Regions from separate parts of the Homo sapiens genome. Here regions 2, 3, 4 and 5 are each linked to region 1. The links are contacts of gene promoters, found by promoter capture Hi-C in blood cells and fetal thymus (Javierre and others, 2016). All regions are on one chromosome and are shown on one strand. The core of a region is centred on a gene start or on the middle of the fragment in contact, and the rest is flanking DNA. Distances in the headings are between cores, read along the strand shown.

Region 1 (2,750 bases), core at 183-2,682:
AGCACAAAATGTGTACCAACTATGTGACAAAATACACAATCCTATCAATAAGTTTAATAGTGAAAATGGCTAATTAAATCTACTTACATACAAATTTCAATAAAATTCAAGCAAAGTTTATTAAAATATAAACTGACTACCTCTTCATATGACTTTCAAATCACAGAACTCATGCTTTAGAGCAGTGATTCTCAAATCTATTTTTACATCTTGTCCCAGGTATCTCCAATTGTCTAATGAGTTGGCAAAAAAAAATAAATAAATAAAATAAAGCCCAACATGCAGGGATCAACAATCTACCAATCTACTTCTTCAAAGTGAACCACCCACCTGTTTTCTTAAAAAGTTTAGTATTTTTGCTGGCTGAGAAACCATGTCGTCTTCAGTTGTCAAAATTGGTACATCGCCTATAATCAAAAAACAGTTTACATACAAGGACACAGTGTGATTTCCTCTGAGAGATTCCAATATCCTAAAAACTATAGCAGTTGCACATTTAGAGGGGAAAAAATGAGTAAGCTTGTCTTGGTTTTTTTGCTGTTTCACAAAGAGCGGTTCTAAAGAACATTTTCGTTTCTCATAATTTCCAGTGATTTCGCTTGCACTTTGAGGTATTACTCAGAATGATCAAACCATAAACAACACAGAGCCAAGGTCACGGTAAGAAACTAAATCCTCAATATTATAGCTATATACCTCACAGCTTTAAATGGAAGAAGAAAAAAAAGAGTGCAGAAAGGGGAGTGTAAAGGTTTACACTATACCTCTTGAACCTCTCCAGGTGTTATCTATCACATTGACTTTCAAGGGTGCACCAGAAAATTTGGCATAAGCCTGAAACAGAGTTTGCAATCAAACATTTTAGACCAAGTGCGTAATGCAAAGCTGCAGAGCAGCTTTACTTCACAGCCCCATCCCCCAAAGGCAGAAGGCGACTGATACTGAGGCCGCATCCCTCCCCGTGATCTCAAGTAGGGACGCGGGCGCCAGCCACCCGGCTTTCGAGGACTTTGCTCCCCAAAAGGTCCTGGGGATGCAGAGTAGGGAGGGCGCGCCCCTTGCTTCGGGGTTTCACTCCACCGCCCAGACAGCTTTGTGAGGCGGACAAAACTCGGAGCCAAGCGGAGAAGCCTTGATGTCGCCGCCGGCCTTCGGCGGGGGTATCGGCCAGGTTGGGACTCGTCGGTGGGAGGGAGCCCAGGGCAATGCAGCGTGCAGCGGCTCGGCCCTCCTGGACCCCGCAGCGCAGCGGGAAACTGGGGCAAGTCAGCCTGGCGCCTCCAGCCCCGCCCCTTCCTCCTGCGCCCTGGCCCGCGAGGCGGCCTCACCATCACCACCAGGGACTCGCTGTGAACCGATGGGAGTCCCCAGCCGCCTCCCCAGCAACTGAGTTCCAAGGGGGCCGCCATCTTGCGCGGGCCGACCTTTACTATCCCGGAAGTACTTTTCCTCCTAATTTCCGGCACGTGAAACGCGGGGGCGTGGCTAAGGGAGGGAAGGGTAATTTGGGGGCTCTTGAGAGATGAGAGAAACAACGACTGGAGGGATTAAGAAGAACTCTTAGGAGCAGCTTGGCCTAAAGGGTAAGAGTTGTGTGCCTTAAGTCAGACCCACCAGTAATTCTTCAAATATTAATATTTATTAGATCCCTAGAGTGTTCCAAACCCTTTGAACATTAAATCTGTGTGATGCCTAAATTAACCTGTTTGTAAAACAGGGATGACCCAGTATTTACAAGATTGTGGTATTTACAATGTCGGAGAGAAAGAACTTGGCACACAGGAGGCACTCAGTAATTGTTCAACCCCTTCTCCCATGTATGTGGCCTCTGCCTGCCTTTCCAGCCTCAACCTGTTCTCACCCTCATGTTCACTGGCACAACCCTGCTTAAAAGTTACAGTATTTCTGAACGTCAGGTAAATTGTGCCCACCTTCAGTGCTGGTCCTTCAATCTGGAATATCTTTCTTCCCTATGCAGCTGCTCCCTCAAAAATGAGCTTAACTCACCTTCCCTGTGATGTTTTTACAAAGTTAGGAGCTCTGGGTTCTTGTAGCCCCTTGTGCATATTTGAATTGTAGCTTCTCTCCCTAGCTACAGACCTTTTGCCTTTCACAGAAGAGGGCTAGCTTCATAGGTTTGGGACCTGTGCAGCCACACAAGGCTCTGTGCTTAAAAAGGCTCCTCATTTGGCTGATGCTCTTCCGTCACTGTCTTGAAATTCTTAAGTTTTGAACAAGGGGCTCTGCATTTTTATTTTGGACTGGGCCCCTCAAATCATGTAGCTCGTCATGTCTGTGGGCCTAATGAGCACAGACTAAATGTTTCTTGACGTTAAACCTGACAGTTTCTCAGAAAAACTATTAAAGAGGAAATTTTGGTCTTGGAAATGCTATGATCCAAACATATGACTGGGTCTCAGAGTTAGAACTTGGGTGCTGGGTCTTTTTTCTAGAAGGCACAGTAGTCTTTCTGGGACACCCTCGCAGTCATGCCTCTGAGTTCTTTCCTCTATTCCACTGAGATGGTCGGATCTTCTTAACTAAAACTCAAAAGAAACCTCTGCAACTTTTCGTAAAATTACTATTCAACAAATATTTGCTAGGCACTCCCTTACTGTTTACATAATCATTCAAATTACAGTGCCAGCCTGCTAAAGTCTTTTTTACATGTTTCAAAACCAAGAGTTCTAAGAAATGAAAAAGAGATATGTCAGAAATGAGAATTCATTAATAATAACTGTATAATTGGA
Region 2 (2,750 bases), core at 152-2,651, 480 kb before region 1:
CCCATAGTTAGTGACTCTGCTAAGAACATACCATGCTCTTTGCTACATTCTTACCTCTCCAATGAAATGTCCTAATTCTGAAAAAGCCCCGTTCAGCCAACTACACATCTCTCAGTCACCATCCCTCCCCTCCCCACTTCGGAACCTTCCAGGGCCTGCCCAACTGTCCACTTCCTCTACCCAGCCAGAGTTCATTGTTCTGGCTTGGTGTTTCCACAGGATACAAGACACAAAACCAAATTGTAAATGATTTTTAAAATTGCTTTCTTATTCTACTTCCCTGATCATGTTCTTACTCTGCTTAAAACCCTTTAGTAATCTTCACACAGAAGAGAAGTGCTTTTCAAATTACCAGTTGCTAACACAGCGTCATTAAATAAATTGAGTGGGTCACCATCATCAGTCTATCTTAAAAATAAAATAGAACGGAACAGAATAGAAACTACCAGAGTGTACCATACAAAGCAAGGGTATTATGTAGTGACATTTTATCATTTATATACAAGCATATTGGGTTGCAATGTAAAGATGCTTATCTTTCCAACGGGTCATAGCCAAAAAAACCTCTAAACACACTAAACTACAGGATAATCCAATCTTTCATTTGATCTACATGGTTCTCCAACCCAGTCCCTGCATAATAAGGCTCTAGACCTATCTCTTGCTACACCAAAGGGAGCTAGCTCAAGCAAACAAGCTTGTCATGCCAAACTCCTTTGCAGTTCCTCGTTTTAGTGGTGTCAATCACTGTTCTCTCTGCCTTGAATGCCCTCTTATTTGTCTAAGAGGCTCACTTGTACTCATCTTTCAGTATTTAACAACTATCACCTCCTCTACAAAGCCTTTTTATCCTTCCCTCAGCAGCTAATGCCCCCCCAACACACACTTTGTGTCTCCATAATGCCCTACATTATAGCTCCTACAAAATTTCATTGCACATTTTAATTTTAGGCTTGACTGTCTGCCCAACTTCCAAAGTATAAACTCACTAAGGGAAGGAGCACATTGTATTGGCCTTCCTATCAGCAGCACTGAGGTAAGTACACGCACTATAACAAAGGTTCAAAGTTGGTAAAATGAACAAATGACGAATTAAGGACTTGCATCTAAGTTGTCTATTGTCAGATATGATAGGGTGGTTATCTTTGCAATAAAACCCATTTATAGTGCTGGATCAAGATTTTCACATTTTTGCTACAACCCCTAGAGAGCAGAACCCTGCAGTTTGAGGCAGAAGGAGGTGTCAGCTTCCCATCTTTCAGCAAAGAGACTCAGTTTGGGCTGCAATGTAGCAGCACTCATTTCCATGCTTCTGGAAGTTATTTGGGGAAAGAGGGGAAGGAAGGACTCCAGAAGTTCCCATAGGCAGGTGAGATAAATCAGAAACAGCATTAACAGATTCCATTAGCAGGGAGAGCCCCATTTTATGTATAAGTAGCTCTTAATAAGGGAAGGGAGGGAAAGAATTCTTTACCATTGCTGATGGCACTAGGTTGCCAAAATGAGCTAAGTAAAAACAAAGGGTTTCATGAAATAAGTGGTTGAAGTTACTTGATTTCTGTTGCCTACTGTGATAGTTCTGAAATAGCTACTGACTCACTGCTGTCATTATGAGATACTATTTGGAGGTGGGGGTGGGGGTCATACCTAACAGGGGCTCCTCACTGAGGCTTCAAAACTTTTCAGAGACTTCATTTTACATACATGAATGCCTTAATTTTTAGGGGATCTGATACACCTATTTTACAAACCCATACTTTAGTTGCCTTCACTGCAATTAACAGTTCATGCAACATCCAAGATACTTTGACAGACTTTGCCAACTGTCAAGTTTCAGCTGTTCTTCTCCATTTCCAAAAAGTTCATAAACTACTATTAGGGGAGCCATAATTTTTTTCTGCCCAATCACTGATTTTATTAAAAATAATTCCTTTGCTTAGACTGCCCCTAGACTTGCAATAATTATCTACAATTAAGACGAAGATAAATCCTTATTATAACCTAACATTAGTTTAAAAAAAGAAGGTTGTAATATGTGAAACACTTTACCCACAGTATTAAATTTTAGATATCTATTACAGTAAGGTAATTATGGATTGCCAAGGTAAAGCTTTAAAAGCCATTTAAAGCCCTGTTTCCTTTTGCTTGAAATAGGTCCAGGCAGCTATGCTAATTCCACAAACATTTATTAGGCATAAATACGCATAAAGTGTGGAAACGTCAGCAAATGCCTTTGCTGTATGCTCTTCTACTTCCATCTACCCTTCCTCTCTCTACTCAAGTCACTATCAATGAGAAAGGGTCATAGCCCCAAATACAGGCTTTCCAAAAAAAAAAAAATAGCACCACAAAATGCTCGCTCCTTTTTCTCCTCAGTCCATATATAGAACTTTATTAACTAAAGGGCAGATACATTCATTTATAAACAAATTAATTATGCTAAGTGTCTAAATGCATGTTATGTGTGGTGCTAACTTTCCCACTTTAAACAACAGCCCCCTTAGTATTAAATTCATCCTGTCTCTTCAGATTCTAGGCGCTTCAGGAGCCGCGCCTTAAGGTGCAGACATGGCCAAGTCCAAGAACCACACCACACACAACCAGTCCCAAAAATGGCACAGAAATGGTATCAAGAAACCCGAAGCACAAAGATACGAATCTCTTAAGGGGGTGGACCCCAAGTTCCTGAGGAACATGCAGTTTGCCAAGAAACACAACAAGAAGGGCCTAAAGAAGATGCAGGCTAACAG
Region 3 (2,750 bases), core at 162-2,661, 410 kb after region 1:
AATCAATGTATTATAAAATAACAATTGGTTTTAAAAAATAATTTAAGGTTCATGCCATACTGACCATTTCTTTTTGCTTATTGAATATATGTGTAGAGAGGGGTTGGACCAGGTTAATTGAATAAGCTTTCATTTATTATAATGGTTAAGGAAATCACCTTAATATAATAAAACACAATTTAATTCTAAAAATTCATGTAACTTTATCTCTATTTTCTTTGTCAATTCAAAAGCACTGCAAGATCTTGCAATGACTGCAAGATCAATAGGAAAAACAATGCAATTATGTTTAATAAACTGTCTGGGCTTGGTGGCTCACTCTTCTAATCCCAGCACTTCAGGAGGCCAAGGTCGGTGGATGGCTTGAGCCCAGGAGTTCCAGACCAGCCATGGGCAACATGGCGAAATCCTGCCTCTACAAAAAATACAAAAGTTAGCCAGGTGCAGTAGCATGCGCCTATAGTCCCAGGTATTTGGGAGACTAAGGCAGGAGAAACACTTGAGCCACAGAGGTTGAGGCGGCAGTGAGCCGAGATCGAGCCATTACACTCCAGTCTAGGCAATGGGAGTGAAACCCTGTACCAAACAAAACAAAACAACAAAAAAAAAATGAATAAGTGTTTGTTGAATTAAACACCAGTTATTCCTCTTTTTTACTGTTGATATAGAAAGCTCATAAGATTTATTATGTTTATCAACAAATCATTGCTATGTCATTAATTTATTGTTTGTCATATATTTCTAAAGAACTCAGAAAAAATATTGGTTATTTGAGCTTTTTGACTTTATAACTTTAAGTAAATACAGTTGCTGTATTAAATACAAGGATCTACAGCGATTATCTGAGCACCACAACTAAAACTTTCCTTAGAGAATTGAAAAGCCTCTCTCACAAGAACCAATACTAAATTATAGCACTTTGTACAAAAGGAGAATGGGCTGTTGAGAGTGTGTTCTTCAGTTTGCTGTTTTGATAAAGGCCTTGACCAGTAAGTGTTGCTGTACTTAACAAAGTAGTTATAACAGCCTGTACTTAACAAAGTAGTTATAACAGCAGGGAGAAATCCTGAACTTCAGGTTTTGTTTATGGATGAGCAACAATGTTCATACTGCGAGAACACCTGGTTTACTTATAAGATAAAGGCTGAAAACAGTAGGTGATCAATAAATGACAGCTATTTATAAAGTGGTTCTTAGTAATAAGTGATGATACGTGTGTCTGGTGCAACTGAACAATAGGAATGGAGCATTTTTCTGTGCCAGAGTACAACTGACCAGCTGTCTGCTCCATAAAACTGGTCATTGTAGATTTTTTATCTCTAATCTAGTTAACTTTGGGTACTACTTGGTACAAAGTTTAATTTTCATTGGTATAGGGCCTTATGTAGAAGTTCAAAACCCAGTTCTGAATTTCTGAACTCACATTTGTGCCGCTGTGGTCATCAGAAAAAAAAAAAAAAAAGGAACTGTTTACTAGGAATTGGAAGAAATATACTAGCTTTAAACCACTCACTGGCTAAATCAGGGTTTCTCAACCTTGGCACTGTTGATATTTTAGGCTGAAAACTTCTTTGTTGTTGGGGGTTCTCCTGTGAATTGCAAGACAGTTAGCGGCATCCCTGGCCTGTATCTATTAGATATCAGTAGCATTCTTTCAGTGGTGACAACCAAAAATGCCTCCAGAGATTGTCAAACGTCCTCTGGGAGGCAAAATCACCCCTCACCTCCACAGAGAACTATTGGGCTAAAGTAGTAGTCATTGATTTGAACTTTGGTTTGTTGGTTGATTTCATCTATTTTTACTACTTTATAGATCAGAAGTTTTGTGGAACCCAAATTAAATACTCTTTCAAAGCATAATTAGGAAAGGTTATTATAATTCTAAACATCTACTAAAAGTATTGCAATTGCTTTGTTAGCAGATTAAATTTTTAGTAGACATTTGGCATTAAAAGGTAATCAAAGGCTACAAATTTTATATGAACAAACTTATTAATTCTCCTTAAAAAACAAAAACAGAAACAAAAACAGAGCAAACGAGTCTTCATATAGTGACAAACATGTGGAGTGGTCATCAAGTCCCTGTATCTTATTCTCAGTTTAGTAGACTAAGAAATTCAGTTTTAAAATGTATTTGCAAGTAATTGTGCTCCAGGGAACTTATACTTGCATTAGCCAAATTCATAGGCTACTGATATAACAACATGGATGTAACTGATCAATTTATAAAAAGAAATATAACCATCAAGAATAGCAATTGTTAGGCTGGCACAGTGGCTAATGTCTGTAATCCCAGCACTTTGGGAGGTTGACTACCTGATTACCTGAATTTGAATTCTAATTGGGAGGATTGCTTGGGCCCAGAAGTTTGAGACCAGTATAGGCAACATAGTGAAACCTTGTCTTTAAAAAAATAAAAATAAAAATTATCTGGGCATGGTGATGCACGCCTGTGGTCCCAGCTACTCTGGAGGCTGAGGTAGGAGGATCACTTGGGCCCCAGGAGTTGGGGCTGCAGTGAGCCATGATCCAACCACTGCATTTCAGCCTGAGTGATATAGTAAGATCCTGTCAAAAAAAGAAAAAAAAAAGAATAACAGTTATTCATCATTTACAGTCAGTGCTTCAGTTAAGTACTTTATGTGGATTATCTCAATCAATGTATTAGTTCTATTAGCATTTGACTACAGGAGCATCAAGCTTAGAAAATTTAGGCCACACAACTAATAGGTTATAGAATTAGAATTCAA
Region 4 (2,750 bases), core at 98-2,597, 310 kb after region 1:
GAGACAAGTCTCAATCAATTTAGAAGCTTATTTTGCCAAGGCTAGGGATTGTGACTGGTGACACAGCCTCAGGAGGTCCTGGGAACATGTGCCCAAGGTGGTTGGGTTACAGCTTGACTCTATACCTTTTAGGGGGACAGAAGTTATAGGCACACATCAATCAATGTAAGGTGTACATTGGTTCAGTCTGGAAAAGTGGGACACACCTGTAATTCCAGCTACTCGGGAGGCTGAGGCAGGAGAATCGCTTGAACCCGGGAGGTAGAGGTTGCAGTGACCTGAGATCACACTATTGCACTCCAGTCGACAGAGCAAGACTCCGTCTCAAAAAAAAAAAAAAAGAAAAAGAAAAAGAAAATTGGGACAACTTGAAGTGAGGACGGGGACGGTTCCTGGTCATAGGTGGATTCAAAGATTTTATGGTTGGCAGTTGGTTGAAAAAAATTATGTTATTATCTAAAGACCTGGAATCAACAGAAAGGAACTCTGGATTAAGATAAGCGGTTGGCCAAGTGCGGTGGCTCATGCCTGTAATCCCAGCACTTTGGGAGGCCGAGGTAGGTGGATCACCCGAGGCCCAGGAAATCGAGGCTGCAGTGAGCTGAGATTGCACCACTGCCCTCCAACCTGGGTGATAGAGTGAGACCCTGTCTCAAAAAAAAGGTGCTAGACTCTTAGTTAATCTCTCCTGAGTCAGGAAAAGTTCTGGAAAGGGAAGGAGGTTCTCTACAGAATGTAGATTTCCCCCATAAGAGTCGTTTTGCAGGGCCATTTAAAAAATACATCAAGGAAGCCGGGCACGGTGGCTCACACCTGTAATCCCAGCACTTTGGGAGGCCGAGGCGTGTGGATCACGAGGTCAGGAGATTGAGACCATCCTGGCCAACATGGTGAAACCCAGTCTTTAATAAAAATACAAAAATTAGCTAGGCGTGGTGGTGCGTGCCTGTAATCCCAGCTACTCGGGAGGCTGAGGCAGGAGAATCACCTGAACCAGGGAGTCAGAGGTTGCAGTGAGCCGAGATCATGCCACCGCATGCCAGCCTGGTGACAGAGACTCCATCTCAAAAACAAAAACAAAAAAAACCCAAAAAATATATATTTCAGGGTAAAATACTTCACTTTCAGGGCCTGCTATCTGGCATGTGATGTTATACTAGAGTCAGGTTGGAATTTGGTGTATTATTGCTACGAAGAGTCAGCTTTGTTAGCTGACAGTTTAAAAGCTCTGTTTTAATGTTAATGCTGGTCAGCTGTGCCTAAATTCCAAGGAGAGAGGGTATAACGAGGCAATCACTTCAACAAATCCCTTCTTCCCATCACGGCCTGAAATAGTTTTTCAGGCCTCCTTTGGAATGCCCTTGGCTGATGGGGGTCCATTCACTTGGTTCAGAGTCTGAGAATGTTATTTTTGGTGTAGGATCATATATACCAAAATCTACTGCAGAAGATTTTATAGGCAGATTTTATACGTAATTTGCAATTTTTTCTTCCAGTCTGTGGCTTGTCATTTTGTTCACAATGTCTTTCACAAGTGAAAGTTTTTAATTTCTAGAACGTCCAATTTATTAAATCTTTCTTTCATAGATTATGCTTTTGGTATTGTATCTAAAAAGTCATTGCCAAATCAGGAGTCACAAAGACTTTCTCCTGTGTTTTCTTCTAGCCGTTTACAGCTTTGTATTTCATATTTAATTTTTTTTTTTTTTTTTTGAGACAGGGTCTCTCTCTGTCACCCAGGTTGGAGTGCAGTGGCACGATCTCTGCTCATTGCAACCTCCGCCCCCCTGGGCTCAAGCGATCTTCCCACCATAGCCTCCCAAGTAGCTGGGAGTTGCCATGTTGCCCAGGCTGGTCTCGAACTCCTGAGCTCAGGCAACCCGCCCACCTCAGGCTCCTGAAGTGTTGAAATTACAGGCGTGAGCCACCGTGCCCGGCCTGTATTTCATATTTAAATCTATGATTCATTTAAAGTTAATTTTCGTCTAAGGTGTGAGATATGTGTCAAAGTTTATTGTTTTTGCATATAGATGTCCAATTTGTTCATCACCATTTGCTGAAAAAGACTATTTCTTCATTGAATTGCCTTTCTATCTTTGATAAAAATCAGTTGACTATATTAGTGTGGTTCTATTTCTGAGCTCTCTCTTTTGTTTCACTGGTTTATGTGTCTGTCCTTTCTTTTTTTTTTTTTTGAGACGGAGTTTCCGCTCTTGTTGCCCAGGGTGGAGTGCAATGGAACGACCTTGGCTCTCTGCAACCTCTGCCTCCCAGGTTCAAGCAATTCTCCTGCCTCAGCCTCCCAAGTAGCTGGGATCAAATGCATATGCCGCTACAGCTGGCTGATTTTGTATTTTTAGTAGAGATGGGGTTTCACCATGTTGGCCAGGCTGGTCTCAAACTCCTGACCTCAGGTGATCCACCCTCCTTGGGCTCCCAAAGTGCTGGGATTACAGGCGTGAGCCATTGTGCCTGACTTTATGTGTCTATCCTTTCACACTGCCTTGATCACTGTCAGTGAATATGAGCCTTCCTACTTCATTCTCCTTTTCCAAGATTGCTTTGGTTATTCTAGATCCCTTGAATTTCCATATGAATTTTAGGATCAGCTTGTCGATTTCTTCCCCCCACAGTCCCCAACTGGCTTGCTTTTCATTGTCTTAACCTTCAAGCTTTTACTTAAGTGTAATCAACCAGGTGAGGGTGGTAGGAGGTATTTCTCAACACTTCTCATGTATACTCAAATTTTG
Region 5 (2,750 bases), core at 83-2,582, 270 kb after region 1:
TCGCAACTTTATTACAAATTTAATTTCCAATTATTCTAATTATTTAAAACATGAACAACTTTGAAAAAAAACCTAGTGAAGCATTCTGTTGGTTTTTAACTATAAAAGGAGAAATTTCTTTAATTTTCACTTATGAGGTCTCTAGGAACCTCAATCCAGTGGACGAAGTTTAATTAATTTCAATTAAAAGTAAACAACAAAGTATTCATTTAGAAACAAATAGCTATAAATTTGCAAGCCCCAGGCAAAAAGTAATCAGAGCCCTATAGTGCCTTCACCCCATTTCTCTGATAGCTATATTGTCATTTATTTCTATTAAATTAATATATGCACAGGTTTTTGTTTGTTTTGTTTTGTTTTGTTTTGTTTTTTGGCGACAGGGTCTCTCTCTCTGTTGCCCAGGCTGGAAGGCTGGAGTGCAATGATGCCATTACGGCTCACTATAACCTTCACCTCCCAGGCTCAAGTGATCCTCCCACCTCAGCCTCCTGAGTAGCTGGGACTACAGGTATGCACCATCACAGCCTGGCTAATTTTTGTATTTTTTGTAAAGACTGGGTTTCACCATGTTGCCCATGCTGGTCTTGAACTCCTGAGGCCAAGCAATCCACCTGCCTTGGCCTCCCAAAATGCGGAGATTACAGGCGTGAGCCACTGCACCCAGCATATGCAAAATGTTTTTTAATTTTTTTTTTTTTTAAGTAGAGATGGGGTTTCACCATGTTGGTCAGGCTGGTCTCGAACTCCTGACCTCGTGATCCACCTGCCTCGGCCTCCCAAACTACTAGAATTACAGGTGTGGATCACCATCACCGTGCCTGGCCCTTTTTTTGTGTGTGTGACGGAGTCTCACTCTGTTGCCCAGGCTGGAATACAATGGCGCAATCTCGGCTCACTGCAACCTCCAACTCCTGGGTTCAAGCTATTCTCATGTCTTAGCCTCCCGAGTAGCTGGAATTACAGGCGCCCACCACCACACCTGGCTAATTTTTGTATTTTTGGTAGAGACGCGGTTTCACCATGTTGGTCAGGTTGGTCTCGAACTCCTGACCTCAGATGATCCACCCACCTCAGCCTCCCAAAGTGCTGGGATTACAGGTGTCAGCCACCACGCCTGGCAATTTTTTTAATTTTTAGAGTAAAAATTTTTAGTGTCAAAAGTTTACAAATTGACAATGACATAAAATGGGTCCAAATATTACAAAAAATAAAATGAAAAATATCCTCTCCAGTCTCCATTCCTTACCTTCTAGTTCCTACCCCAGAGGCAACCACTTTCAGTCATTTATACAGTTTTCCCCTATTCACCTCCATATATATATATGTGTGTATATATATATATATAAATATATACATATATATAAATATATACATATATATATTTTTTGAGATTGAGTCTCACTCTGTCACTCAGGCTGGAGTACAATGGCACAATCTCGGCTTACTGCAACCTCCGCCTCCCAGGTTCAGGTGATTCTCCTGCCTCAGACTCCTGAGTAGCTGGGATTACAGGCATGTGCCACCATGCCCAGCTAATTTTTTTTTTTTTTTTTAGACGGAGTCTTGCTCACTTTCCAGGCTGGAGTGCAGTGGCACTGTCTTGGCTCACTGCAACCTCTGACTCCCTGGTTCAAGTGATTCTCCCATCTCAGCCTCCCGAATCGCTGGGATTACAGGTACACGCCACCACGCTCAGCTAATTTTTTGTATTTTTAGTAGAGATGGGGTTTCACCATGTTGGCCAGGATGGTCTCGATCTTCTGACCTCGTGATCTGCCCACCTTGGCCTCCCAAAGTGCTGGGATTACAGGTGTGAGCCACTGCGCCTGGCCTTTTAGTTTTTTGTTTTTTGTTTTTGAGATGTAGTCTTGCTCTGTCGCCCAGGCTAGAGTGCAGTGGTGCGATCTCAGCTCACCGCAACCTCCACCTCCCGAGTTCAAGCAATTCTCTGCCTCAGCCTCCTGAGTAGCTGGGATTACAGGCACCCGCCACCATGCCTGGCTAATTTTTTTGTATTTTTAGTAGAGACAGGGTTTCATCATCTTGGCCAGGCTGGTCTTGAACTCCTGACCTCATGATCCATTCACCTCAGCCTCCCAAAGTGCTGGGGTTATAGGCGTGAGCCACTGCACCCAGGCCCATCTAATATTTTTGTAGTTTTAGTAGAGACAGGATTTCATCATGTTGGCCAGGCTGGTCTCAAAACTCCTGACCTCAAGTGATTCACCCGCCTCAGGGTTTCAAACTGCTGGGATTACAGGCATGAGCCACAGTGCCTAGCCAATATCCCCTTCCCCTTCCCCTTCCCCTTCCCCTTCCCTTTTTTCTTTTTTTCAGTAGAGATGGGGTTTCACCATGTTGGCCAGGCTGGTCTCGAACTCCAGACCTCAGGTGATCTGCCCGCCTCAGCCTTCCAAAGTGCTGGGATTACAGGCATGAGCCACTGTGCCCAGCCTCATATTTTCAAATAATGTTCTTCTGCTGTTATTTCCTGATGTGTGGGCAGCATTTATTTTGCAGTTTCTTTTATGTTCCATTTAGGCTGAATTCTCAACCCACTTTCACCTGCCCCCTTGCCAATCTAATTACATCACGGTTTTCATAAAATTTATCGGCCAACATGTAATCATGTCTAGTCAAAATTATGCATTACATAGCCACATAGTATATAATATTAGCGTTTTTTGTCTACTTTTATTTTCCAATTTCATCCCTCCTGTTAGAGGCAGTATATTCTAATGGTTAGGGTT

The links. The method cuts DNA at HindIII sites, captures the fragments that hold promoters and counts their contacts. A CHiCAGO score of 5 or more calls a contact.
Region 2: a fragment that was not itself captured here is called in contact with the fragment with the promoter of MTX3 in region 1 in 1 of 17 cell types (activated CD4 T cells); the score reaches 5.0 in activated CD4 T cells.
Region 3: a fragment that was not itself captured here is called in contact with the fragment with the promoter of MTX3 in region 1 in 7 of 17 cell types (activated CD4 T cells, total CD8 T cells, non-activated CD4 T cells and 4 more); the score reaches 9.2 in activated CD4 T cells.
Region 4: a contact is called between a fragment that was not itself captured here and the fragment with the promoter of MTX3 in region 1, in 1 of 17 cell types (activated CD4 T cells). The highest score is 6.1, in activated CD4 T cells.
Region 5: a fragment that was not itself captured here is called in contact with the fragment with the promoter of MTX3 in region 1 in 1 of 17 cell types (activated CD4 T cells); the score reaches 7.2 in activated CD4 T cells.

What each region holds. Positions count from the first base shown.
Region 1 is chr5:79,989,830-79,992,579 of GRCh38, forward strand. MTX3 (metaxin 3) reads right to left here and starts at 1,433. Exons shown (of 9, transcript NM_001363818.2): 1 at 1,329-1,433; 2 at 765-834; 3 at 331-407. The coding sequence starts at 1,409. It also overlaps a transcript of THBS4 not described here. RefSeq lists an enhancer at 931-1,100. The HindIII fragment of the contact is 4,262 bases long and covers 518-2,750 here.
Region 2 is chr5:79,507,866-79,510,615 of GRCh38, forward strand. The region is part of intron 1 of HOMER1 (homer scaffold protein 1); the gene reads right to left. It also overlaps the pseudogene RPL29P15. Among named protein-coding and RNA genes, the nearest start is that of HOMER1, 4.9 kb to the right of the region's middle. The HindIII fragment of the contact is 1,413 bases long and covers 696-2,108 here.
Region 3 is chr5:80,402,500-80,405,249 of GRCh38, forward strand. No RefSeq gene overlaps it. Among named protein-coding and RNA genes, the nearest start is that of ZFYVE16, 4.2 kb to the right of the region's middle. The HindIII fragment of the contact is 2,574 bases long and covers 125-2,698 here.
Region 4 is chr5:80,303,403-80,306,152 of GRCh38, forward strand. No RefSeq gene overlaps it. Among named protein-coding and RNA genes, the nearest start is that of SPZ1, 15 kb to the right of the region's middle. The HindIII fragment of the contact is 2,646 bases long and covers 25-2,670 here.
Region 5 is chr5:80,262,308-80,265,057 of GRCh38, forward strand. No RefSeq gene overlaps it. Among named protein-coding and RNA genes, the nearest start is that of SERINC5, 7.6 kb to the left of the region's middle. The HindIII fragment of the contact is 6,133 bases long and covers 1-2,750 here.